Regions from separate parts of the Homo sapiens genome. Here region 1 is linked to region 2. Evidence: promoter capture Hi-C in 16 types of primary human blood cells and fetal thymus (Javierre and others, 2016). All regions are on one chromosome and are shown on one strand. The core of a region is centred on a gene start or on the middle of the fragment in contact, and the rest is flanking DNA. Distances in the headings are between cores, read along the strand shown. Region 1 overlaps ANKRD17 (ankyrin repeat domain 17). Region 2 holds the start of STAP1 (signal transducing adaptor family member 1).

Region 1 (6,066 bases), core at 1,370-3,869, 5.5 Mb after region 2:
AGTGGGCATTAATGTTTTAGTTAAAAAGGATCATTAGTTTTCCTTTACATGGGCTTTCTGTCAAAGTGGACTTTTGTTGCCTTTATTGATCATAAAATTAATGCAAACTTATTTAAAAAATCCAAAACCAAAAACCATATATAAAACAGAAAGTGAAACTTCCAGATGTTCCTATTTCAAAAACGAATGTATGTGTATTTGTGAGAGAGAAAAAGAAGAGGAAGAATAAACGTTTACCTTTAGGGATTTTTAGATAACATTTTTTTTTAAATGTTTATTTTTAGGGATAAAGATAAAACATTTACTCTTCCTCTTCTTTTTCTCTCTTACAGGTACACATTTGTTTTTGAAATATGTTCATTAAAAAAGTATTACAAATGTTTACACACTAAACTATTACACAAGTAACCTATCTGATTTTAGTCTAACGGGTTAAAAATACAGAAAAAAAAGAAAGAAAATAATTGTCAACGATTTTTTTTTTTAATTTAGGAGACAGCTTTCTCTGTTGCTCAGGGTGGAATGCAGTGGCATGTGATCATAGCTCACGGTAGCCACAAACTCTTGGGCTCAAGCAACCCTCTTGCCTCAGCCTCCTGAGTATCTGGGGCTACAGGTGTTCACCATTACACCTAGCTATATTTTTGTTTTACCTTTTATTAGCTTTTATAGAACACATGTCAATATTGGATTTTATGCTTGAACCTGGGAGGCGGAGGTTGCAGTGAGCCTAGATTGTGCCACTGCACTCCAGCCTGGGCGTCCGAGTGAGACTCCATCTCAAAAAAAAAAAAAAAAAAAAAAATATATATATATATATATATATATATATATATATCTGTAGGATTTTAAATAGGTTTAAGGACCAAAGAGTTGTATAAAACTACAGGGCAAAAAAGGGCTGTAGATACAATTCTACAATGAAGAGATCTGATAATTACATACTAACCACACGGCCATGCTTTCCACAGCCAATACTGGAACAATTTATCATTTTTTCTTTTTTTTTAAGGAGACAGGAGATTGCTCTGTTGCTCATAGCTCACCCCAGCCTCCATCTACTGGGCTCAAGTGATCCTCCTGCCTCAGCCTCCCAAGTAGGTGGGATTACAGGTACATGCCACCACACCCAGCTTTTTTATTTATTTTTGTAGAGGCAAGGTCTCACAATGTTGCCCAGGCAGGTCTTAAATTTCTGGCCTCAAATGAGCCTCTTGTCTCAGTCTCCCAAAGTGTTGGGATTACAAGTGTGAGCCACCACATCCAGCCAATCTGTCATTGATAAAATGCAGTGTGAGGTTCAAAACATCACCTATATGATGCTCCTTCCTGAAATATTTGATCTGAATCTAATCATGGATTGACATAATCACTGAATTAAACTTGCCCACAGAGTCAATGTCAAGAATTACAGAGGAAGGCAGTAGAATACTTTAGACAGAGGGAGACCAAAGACACATAACAACCAAAAGTAATGTGTGAATCTTGATTGAGTCTTGGATCAAATGGCAAGGAAAAGAGACACACATAGTCAGAAAGAATATATTTGGGAAAATGGCATTTTATGTTGGGTGTTATTATCAAATTCATCCTCATTTTATTGGGTGCAGTAATAGTGGCATAGCTGTGAAGGCAAACATTGTGAAGATCCATATCAAAGTATTTAGGGGTAAAGTATCATGTTTGAAAGTTATCTTCTCATGATTTGACAAAAGATGGGGAAGAAAAGAAAATAGAGATAGGATAGAAAGGGGGAAAAGGAGGAAAGAAGGATGAAGAAGGGGAGAGACAGGTAAGACAAGACAAGAGAGGGGGAAGAAAAGGAAGCAGCAAAAGAGAGGAAAAAAAAGGAGGGAAGAAGGAAAAGGGGAGAGAGGAAGGGAGGGGAGTGAGGGAGAGAGTTTGAAAAGATGTTAACAAGCAGAGAATATATTAATAAATGTGGAAATACCAAGTATTTACTATGCTGCTTATTCTGTCCTTAGATCTTTATGTGACTTAAATAACTTTTCAAAATACAAACTATAAAAACAGATCTGAGTCTAAAATACAAATAATCAAATTATTTACATAAGAAAAGTTAAACAAAGGAAGAAAAATATGGAACACAAAATGAATTAGGAAGAAGTAGAGAGAAGTGAAAATTAGGATCTGAGAGAGGTTTAGGAGAAAATAAAAGGACATACTTCCTATGTAATAAAAGGAGTATCTTTAACTCAAAATGACCTGAATTAGGTAATTGACTTGTAAGTTAAACTTCAATGCTAATTTTGGCTCTCATCAACTATACACTCCCTAAAAACCTCACCTTTCTTACAGAGGTCTTTCTTCTATACCTTTTCAAAAAATAGGAATTTATTTTTTTGTTCTCTAAAGCTTAATTTTAGCCTTTCTGAATCCCACACCTAGATTATCACATTTTTGGAAAGGTAAAGTATTAAATTCCAACTACTATAAAAATCAAACTTAAAGCATTTCCTACGCACTGGCACATAATGATCTAAAATCTAATTATATTGATTCTATTGTTTTAATATAAAATAAATTATTTTTCATAGTACACATAAATATTTCAGTTGACTTTTAGCAAAGAATATTTACTGACCACCTTCATTAAATTTTATTTACATGTTACAGAAATAGGTAAAAATAACATTGAGTTCCCATTAAACTTGGAAATTTTTGTCCCGGAATGTCATATTTCCAATAACACAGATAACGAGTTGGCAACCAAGAGCCAAATACCAAATATTTTAGGCTTTGCAGGTCACATGGTCTCTGTCCCAGCTACTCAATTCTGTCATTGTAGCATAAAAGTAGCCTTATACAATATGCAAATGAATGGGCATTGCTGTGTTTCAGTAAAGCTTTCTCTACAAACACTGAAATTAAAATTTCATATTTTGTGTTGCATGTTTATTCTTTTTAAATTTTTTTTTTTTTTTTTGAGACAGGGTCTCCACCCAGGCTGGAATGCAGAGGTGTGATCTCAGCTCACTGTAACATCTGCCTCTAGGGCTCAAGTCATCCTTCCACCTCAGCCCCCCAAGTAGCTGGGACTACAGGTATGCACCACCATGCCCAGCTAATTTTTATATTTTTGTAGAGATGGGGTCTCCCCTTAAGCCCAGGCTGGTCTGGAACTCCTGGGCTTAAGCAATCGACCCACCTCAGCCTCCCAAAGTGCTGGGATTACGGGCACAAGCCACCGTGCCAAGCCTATTCTTAAAAAAAAAAATTTTTTTTTAAACATTTAAGAAATGTAAAAACAGGCAGCAGGCCAAATTTGGCCCATAGACCATAGTGTGTCCATCTCTTACGTGGACTATCTTTAATTACTTGAAATGCTTATATTAAAACCCAACAGCTTTAAATGGAAACTGGCATCCTGGATTAGATCCTACAATAGAAAAAGGATATTACTTGAAAAACTTGTGAAATCTGCCTAAAATCTGTAGTCTAGTTAGTAGTACTACACCAATATTAATTTTTTTAGTTTCGAAATGTATCATGGTTATGTAAGATGGTCACATGAAGGGAAGCTGAGGAATTATAGAATTCTTCTATAAATCTAAAAATATTTTAAAGTAAAAAGTTTTTTTTAAAAAAGCAATAGCTTACAATCAGGAGATCTTTGTATCTTCTACATATATCAGTGTTGCCCAGTAGAATTTTGGATAATAGAAATGTTCTAGATCTTTGCTGTCCAATATGGTAGCTACCAGCCACAAGTGTTTTTTAAGCACTTAAATATGGGTAGCCTAAGAAGCTAATTTTTTTATTTTTAAAATTTTCATTAATTTAAATTTAAAAAGTACACATGGTTATTGGCTACCATATCAGACTGTGTAGCTCTATTTTTAAAATTATTTTAGAAATAAAAAAGATAATGCGAAATGAAACCCAATTTTTTAAATCTGTTATTTTGTATTTGTAATAAATGTAAACTTTTGGTGACAGTACCTTATTAAATTAAAACATGAAAGACTTCTGAGAGAGAAAAACACGCCTAGGCCAGGAACTGTGGCTCACGCCTGTAATCCTAGCACTTTGGGAGGCCAAGGTGGGTGAATCACCTGAGGTTGAGAGTTCGAGACCAGCTTGGTCAACATGGTGAAACCCCATCTCTACTAAAAATACAAAAATCAGCCAGGCATGGTGGTGCACGTCTGTAATCCCAGCTACTCGGGAGGCTGAGGCAGGAGAATCACTTGAATCTGGGAGGCAGAGGTTGCGGTGAGCTGAGATCATGCCACTGCACTCCAGCCTGGGTGACAGAGCGAGACTCTGTCTCAAAAAGCAAACAAACAAAAAAACCCCGCCTGATCAGAAGACTTATTTATGGAAAATTAAATAAAAATCTATGGTAGCTTTTAAAAAGATTTTTAAAAATAACACCATACTAAACACAAACAACAGCATCTGAGTTAACTAAATCCAACAATCTTTGTCTATATCGTCCAGAGAATAAAAATATTAGAAAATGACCAAGAATTTTCACATCACTTGTGCAAATGAACAGCTGCAGAATCTCAGAAAATATAAACTCACCTGAGGGACTTGGAGCAGGTCTCTGTAATGGTGGTCTAAAACCTGGAGCTTTGGAAGTATCAGACTGATGTAAAGGATCTGAATTTGGCAAATATGAGGATTTTCCTGATAGCATAGATTCTGGTGTTGACTGAGATGAAACAACAGATCCTCCCCAGAAGGCATGAGCAGAAGTAGGGCTGTTTTCAAACAATGTGCTAAAGGGCCCAAATGGTAAGGGGGCACTGAAATTGGGAGCAATAGGCTTATTTGCTGGATGTACTGAATTCTGACAAGCACTTTGTGTACTTAAGGTCGAAGGTAGCTGGACAGAAGAGGGAACACTGTGAGGTCTTTTAATGTGATTGACACTGAGGACTGCAACAGATGAATTTTGCACTGAAGCTGAATTCTTGTGAGGGGCAGTTGTGCCATGAGGGGGTGGTCTAATAGCAGGGGTTTCCATTTTAGGAGTAGGCTGGGGGCATCCCATTGGTGTCTGAGGCATAGGGTAAGTCACTGGGGCAGTAGAAGGCACCGCCACTGGAGCAGAACTTGTTGCTAAAGGAGGAACAGTCATTCTAACTTCCGGGGGAGGAACCTGAGACTGCTGAAGAGGTGGTCTTGGTTCCTGAGAAACAGATCCCGGAGGTTGTTGCTGATTAGAATGAGCTGATGAACTCCCAGAAGAACTGCTGCTGTTTGGAGGTCTAGTGTTTGTTGTTTCTACTACTGGTGGACTACCTGCTTCCTGTTCGGAGGAAGATGCCACTTTATTTGGAGATGCTGATCCACAATCCAAAGGGCTGTTTCTAGAAACCCCTCCTGGCTGGGCTGGTGGTGATGGGGAAGATGGGGATGATACTGGATAGTGTTCTTTGGCAGTAGGCATAGGATATGTGGCATTTGTGGGTGCAGTGTTGTTGTTGCTTGCCGTGGTTGTGACTGTTGTTGTGGTGGCATTGGATGTCTTCACAACTGTGACAAAAAGCTGCCTTCGGACAGAAGGTGAACTTGGACTGCCATTTGTAGATGTACCAGGCACCGTTGAAGCTGATGAACTGGTTGTAGTTGTTGGGCTTGAAGTTAAAGAACCTGCTGAATTCACCTGAGAACCACTGCTATTCTGATTGCTATGGCGAGGCACCATGTGAGGCTTAGGCGAGTTAGTAGCTCTGGCAGGGCTCAAAGGCCTGACAGGAAACGGACCCCAAGTGGATTGAGCTGGTGGAAAAGTACCTCCAAAGTGGGTCATGGGCAACCTTGGTGGACGGATCTGCTGGAAAGTCTGAGCAGCAAGCAAAGCATGTGCAAACTGTGGAGGAGGATATGCTAATGGAAGAGAAACTGGAAAACCAGGCCTCACATTATTCACTGGGTTCTTAATGGTTTTGTGAGTGGATGCAGAAGAAATTGCAGGCACAGTGAGTGCTGTGGCAGTTTGAGATGTTGATGACAGAGCTACAGTTGTCATTTTAATTCCCATTAAGGAAGTGTTAGCAGCAGTGGTGGTAGGTGCTGATGACCCTATTTTGG
Region 2 (6,690 bases), core at 1,679-4,178:
GCCATGCTTGAGCCCATTGTTGGTATTCAATAAGTATTTAGTGTTCAATAAAAAATATTTAAAAAGGAATCTCAAAAGCAATGAGAATCCTTTAAAGTCTTTTCAGTAGGGGAATATCTTGATTAGGTTGAATATTAAATGAATCAAAGAAGAAAAAGAGTGGAAACTAGGAGACTACTTAAAAGCCTTTTGCAGCTCTTCAAACAATAAGTCATGTAGTCCATCGCCTCCTTGTATAGGTGAGGAAGCTATGATACCAGAGAAGTCAAGTGGTTTGTTCAAGGTCTCAAGAGCTGGTTAGTAGCAAAATTAGTTTATGCCCTATGTCCAAACATATTTTCTACTATATTTCCTTACCTACAAATTTATTCTTCACTGCCTAAGACTTGAGGTATCTGTAAGAGGATTTCCATTGTAATGGTGCAGTGGTGCAATGACACTAGTCATTGCAGACAGGACTAACTTGTTAATATTGTTTAAGCAAGATTTTTGCATTTTGTAGTCTTTTTCAGGGAGATATAATTTGATTCTTGGTATATTAAGAATGAATTTGACGAACAAATCAGCAGACCAAAGTAACTTACTGTGTCTGATTAGCTGTTTTTAAATTGTTGCTTATATTTTAAAGGCAAAAAAAAAACTAAGTGCTTATTTAACAACAACAAAAAATCCCCTTTACATTTTTTTAGAGGTATTATTTTCTCTCACCTATGAAACTTTCTGACCATAAAGTCAGTGCGTAATCACTGATGATTCCCAGCATTCTTTCTTTATCCTTGCTTCTTTTCATTTTTCAATTCTTAATCCCTCCTTTCACTTCCCCCCTGTATTACAACAACTAACAGCTGCCAAGAAAGTGGATTAGGTCATATATTCAATCAGGAGGTTTTCCTGTTATTCAAGTCACTTTCTTAGTATACCGAAACTAAAAAATAGTTATGGTTTTTGCCTCAAAAAATTCAGTTGGACTTATATTTTATTATTTGAAGGTTGGGTAGCAAGAAGCAGGTCTAAACTTACAAAAGCAAAGCAGTCATTTTGGATCTTCAACTCCCTATTTCTGTCTTGAGCTGTTTTCATTTTGATAATACATCTGAACACTCTTCTCTAACTTACTGATAATCAGTCCGTATTGTTCTACCTCACTTTGTAGACAATTTGTCATCCCATATCTACAGCTGCAGGATCAGTGGGACCCATACTGGTGGAGAAAACCATGCAGTCTCTCCATTAGGAAAGGAGAATCAGACTGAAGACTCCTGACTTGCTTTGATTTCTAATAATAGGCTGGTCTCACTGGGCCCAGGCTGTTCTAAATCTAGAGTAGTTCTGAAATACTGAGTGTGAAATAGGCAATGGTAGAAATTCTTAGGACCCCTGTAAGACAAATCAAAATTCCTTCTAGTATTCTTTTCTCCCATCATTTCCTGCACTGTGCTACGCCAAATCCAATCTCTTAAGGACCATTTCCTACATGCAACCATTGAGTGCACTTTGGCCCCAGTATAGCTTTATAAATCTCACTAGATAACTGTGGGAAGTCCATCCATGAATCATAGTATCAATGGTCTGCAGCTCAGAAAGCACAAAAGAACAAAATAAAAGTTTGAAAACTTACAGCTTTCTCTGCCAGATATTTTTTTGCCAAATATCTTAGACTCCTTTGTGTTGCTGTAACAGAATGCCACAGACTGGTAATTTATAATGAACAGAAATGTATTTCGCTCATGGTTCTGGAGTCTGGAAGTCAAAGAACATGGCCAGCATCTGATGAGGACCTTCATGCAGCATCATTCCATGGCAGAAGATAGAAGAGCAAGAGAGGATGATAGCATGTGAGAAAGTGCCAAACTTGATTTTATAAAAAACCCACTTCCAGGCCAGGTGCAATGGCTCACACATGTAATCCCAGCACTTTGGGAGGCCACAGCAGGAGAATCGCTTGAGCCCAAGAGTTTGAGACCAACCTGGGCAACATAGGGAGATACTGTCTATACAAAAAATGAAAAAGTTAGCTAGGAGTGGTGGCGCGTGCCTTGTAGTCCCAGCTACTTAGGAGGCTGATGTGTGAGGATTGTTTGAGCCTGAGAGGTCAAGGCTGCAGTGAGCTGTGATTGCACCAGTGTATTCCAGCCTGGGCAACAGAGCAAGACCCTGCCTCTGAAAAAAGAGAAAGAAACCCACTCCCACAGCATTAATTAATTCATTCATTCATGAGGGCAGAGGCCTCATGACTTAATCACCTTCTAAAAGTCCCATTTCTAAACACTGTTGCATTGGGGATTAAGTTTCTAACACATAAGTTTTGGAGGACACATTCAAAACATAGCACTAAATATTCATTGGGAACTCATGTACTTGGAATATCTACTGGCAAAAAAAAAAAAAAAAGAAAGAAAGAAAAAAGAAAAAAATTCCATATTCCGTGTTCCCATAATTGTGGTTTATATTTAGTGAAGCATCAAATGAGCATGAGATACAACTATTTTTTTTATTTACACAAAACTTGACCCTAAAATATTTAACCAACAGAAGTAGTACTAATAAAATTATTCTATGAAGTAATTTTTAATGAAGCTGAGTTTATTCAAGTCATGTCTTCTGCAAATAAAAATGGACACCAATAAACAAAAACAAAGATAGAAAGAATAACTGTGTTCTTGATATCTCCCCTAAAGTTCACAATCTCTACACCTGTTTCTTTCATCTTCTGGTGATGTTAATCTTCTGTTTATTTTGCGCTTTAAATCTAAGCACATGTGGATTACCCAGAGATTGCCCTCTGAAAGTCAGTCTACACCTGTTCTTTCTTACCTCACAAAAAGTAATGGAAAAAAAAGTGTGTGTGTGTGTGTGTGCGTCTGTGTGTGTGTGTGTCCTGTTGGTGGTAGTGTTGGTGGTTAAAAAGCAATTTGGGACTTCCTCTTTGAACAGTTGCCTTTTCCTCTCACAGAAGGAAGATTTCATTTTGTTTGAGACGAGAAACCAAACCACACACCAAAGAGAGGGGTATGATGGCTAAGAAGCCCCCAAAACCAGCCCCTCGCAGGATCTTCCAGGAAAGGTTAAAGATTACTGCTCTACCTTTGTACTTTGAAGGTTTTTTATTAATCAAGCGGTCAGGATACCGGGTGAGTCTATAGATGATAATGTTAAACCTAAGACTTCTGTTTTAATTTAATATTTATTTCATGGTGATGTGATGTGTTAAGACCTCCTTGTTTCTGTTGAAATTAAATCATCTTCTCTTCTTTGAGCTCAGAAAAATGATTCCAATTTTTCATAATTTAAATACAATGTCTGGCTTAAACCTGTATGTATACACATATATAATATGTATAATAACAGAGGTTGTAATATTAAGGCACTAATATAAAAAAGTCAATAAGCTAAATTTCCAAAGAATTTATTTAAATATCACAAAAGATTTTGGCTTGGGAGATAAAATGTTTCTTGTATTTTCTCCACAATTTATTGCTATGCTTCAATGATGACATGTACCATTAAGATAAAATGATATCATGATTAAAATTAAACCTGCTCCTGTTCTGAGTCATTTGAAGTTTATAATGATCAAATTATTAAAAATGGCTTTTGTAAAAATTGTTAAAATGACAAAGTTCATACTGTTTAACATTATATATAGTTATGTGTTCTAAAATACTATTCAAGATAGTGACTTTTAATTTTTGGGGTACTACTGTGGGTATTAAGTACACTAAGCTACATAAATACCTTTGCTCTAAGAAAATCCATGAAGCATTCTGTATTTTTAAATGTAATAATTAAAACTTATAGTTAGTTAAAATCATTACTTTTAAAACAGTAATTATGGATGACTTGAAATTAATTAGAGAAATAAGCCCAAAATTGCCTGTTATTAAATAAAAAAATCATTAAGTTAGGTCAAATTTTATGAAATTGTATACTGACTAAAACTAGAAAAATTTTAAGGTTTTCAGAAATTCCATCAGAAATGTTTAATGATGCTAAAATATATTTTCTGAGGATTTATGAATACTTGTGGAAAAATTATATATATGAAAAATCTATAATAGCATATTCACATTTCTTACATATATAATCAGATCATTTACTATTTGAGAGTAAAGACATGGTAATTTGTATTCTGTTATGGATGTTAAACATGCATAAATAATTACCTTTCAGTTATATTAGAATTTTTTAGATTGATCCTATATGCTTTTAATGTAAATTCAATCTTGTCACCACAGGTAAGCCACATAGTCACACTTTGCCAGGAAAGGGAAGTTGAGAAAAAAAAATTCTAATTAGTAATTTAAATCAGGTTGTTCATTGAATGTTTTCCAAGGTATTTATAATAACTGTTTATGATAGCAGTTTTTTTTAAATGCTTAAAGAAGACATGTCATTGGTATGGTTAGCAGAAAGAATAAGAATTTTAGAGTGTCCTTTATCTGATGGTTTTGCCACTTATAGCTTGTGATCTTGTGCAAGTTACTCAATCTCCTTGAGACTGTTTCAACTATAAGATAGAGAGTATACTACTTGCTACTTGCCTCCTAAGGTACATTCTAGGATTCAGTAGGTGTTCAATCAATTTATTCACTCAACATTTATTGTGTGCCTCCTATGCACCAAGCATCACTCATTTCTGGAGAATATGGAAAAAAACACAAAGATTTTATTTTCAAGAGGCTTAATATAGTAGGAATGATGTCTTCCTTACCAAATTTCTACTCTTTACCTTCTCTTAGAAAGCATTCTTTGAAGCAGAATGAATACCTATAGGCATAAATATTTCCAATGAAATTAACTTGTGTTTCTATTTGAATTTATAGTAAAGTATCTTTGTGTGTGTGGGTGTGTGTCTGTGTGTGTGTGTGTGTGTGTGACAGTGTCTCCTCTGTTGCCCAAGCTGGAGTGCAATGGTGCAATCACTAGTCATGCAGCCTTGACATCCCCGGCTCCGGTGATTCTCCTGCCTCAGCCTCCTGAGTAGCTGGGACTACAAGCGCATACCACACCCGGCTAACGTTTGTATTGTTTATAGAGACAGGGTTTCATCACGTTGTTCAGGTTGGTCTCAAACTCCTGGGCTCAAGCAACCTGCCCACCTTGGCCTCCCAATGTGCTAGAATTACAGGCATGGGCCTCTGAGTTAGACCACTAAGTACCTTTTACTTGTATGTCAGGGAGAAGAGAGCAAGAGGATGACAATAATACCTACTTATGTGGTGGTTTCAGGGATTAAAGGGATAGCATATGTAAAACACCTGGCTCACACTAAAGGTTAGATTCATTCTCTTACCCTTTCATCACTTATCATACTCTTATTCAGGTACTAAAATTAGTTTGAGGTCTGCAAGTAATATGACTCCAAGGAGAGTGAGCATGGTGATAATTAGAGTACTTGAAAATAGAAGCTATGAGAAAAATCTAAGCAAAATAAGTGGAATTTCCAAGCAATTGGCAGCAAAGTGCCAGGGAATCTTTGAACAGAAGGTGAGCCAAAGGTATATAGCCAAGTAATCTTTGGAGCTGATTGGCTAGAGGAAGGTGAGAGGCTCTGCAGAATGTAAAGTTGGGTCTCTGCCAAAGTCATTCAGAACATTTAAACTAGAAAAAATATAACTGAAGAGTAACCTGGTCTATAAAGGCATGAAATGCTGAGAGGTGCTTCTTAGCTATTTTTTGTGGGGCACTTTTAAGTATTTAAAGAGCTTTTCCCCAGGAAAATGTAACAACGTATACCATTTTGCATGCAATTCTAGAAGGTTTCTAAATCTGAGGTCAAGAACCCATGAAAAACACATAATCTTTATGGAAAAGATAATGTGGGAAGATTTATTTAAGCCACAGCACTAGGATTCTGAATTAACCAGGAAGATGTGTTTATTATCAAAGCTGTTAAATGCCACAGTGGAATACCATTGGCATCGCAGTTCTTACAAATGGGAAAATTTCTCATTTTTTCTGGGACCGTTTGAAAATAAGAGAGAGTGTGGGTGGGCCGGGAGCGGTGGCTCATGCATGTAATCCCAGCACTCTGGGAGGCCCAGGTGGGCGGATCACGAGGTCAGGAAATGGAGACCAACCTGTTCAACATGGCGAAACCCCGTCTCTACTAAAAATACAAAAATTAGCAGGGCATGGTGGCACGCACCTGTGGTCCCAGCTACTCGGGAGGCTGAGGCAGGAGAATCACTTGAACCTGGGAGTCAGAGGTTGCAGTGATCCGAGATCGCGCCACTGCACTCCAGCCTGGCAATAGAGCGAGACTCTGTCAAAAAAAAAAAAAAAAAAAAAAAGAAAGAAAGAGAGAAAGAAAGAAAAGAAAAAGAAAGAAAATAAGAGATAGTTTGGGCAACGTCTCATAATTTCTTCAATCTGTGATGTGCTAAAGTAAAAAAAAAAAACAGTGTGTGTGGGCCGGGCCCGGTCCCAGCTATTCGGAAGGCTGAGGCAGGAGAATCGCTTGAATCTGGGAGGCGGAGGTTGCAGTGAGTCAAGATCGTGCCACTGCACTCCAGCCTGGGTGACAGAGCGAAACTCCGTCTCAAAAAAAAAGGAAATTTTTTAGGGCTGTCTAAGTTGTGCTCACACACAGTTCTCTATGGCAGTAATCTCCAAATTTTAAAATAACACACTCCTTTCAGGAAAACATTTTGAGCACAGATCCCTAATATAAGAATATTAATTCAGCCG

Evidence for each region. The method cuts DNA at HindIII sites, captures the fragments that hold promoters and counts their contacts. A CHiCAGO score of 5 or more calls a contact.
Region 1: a fragment that was not itself captured here is called in contact with the fragment with the promoter of STAP1 in region 2 in 1 of 17 cell types (total B cells); the score reaches 5.3 in total B cells.

The regions. Positions count from the first base shown.
Region 1 is chr4:73,086,116-73,092,181 of GRCh38, forward strand. ANKRD17 (ankyrin repeat domain 17) reads right to left here. Exons shown (of 34, transcript NM_032217.5): 29 at 4,552-6,066. Among named protein-coding and RNA genes, the nearest start is that of COX18, 19 kb to the left of the region's middle. The HindIII fragment of the contact is 491 bases long and covers 2,375-2,865 here.
Region 2 is chr4:67,555,799-67,562,488 of GRCh38, forward strand. It overlaps STAP1 (signal transducing adaptor family member 1), which reads left to right and starts at 2,929. Exons shown (of 9, transcript NM_012108.4): 1 at 2,929-3,131. The coding sequence starts at 3,012. The HindIII fragment of the contact is 12,125 bases long and covers 1-6,690 here.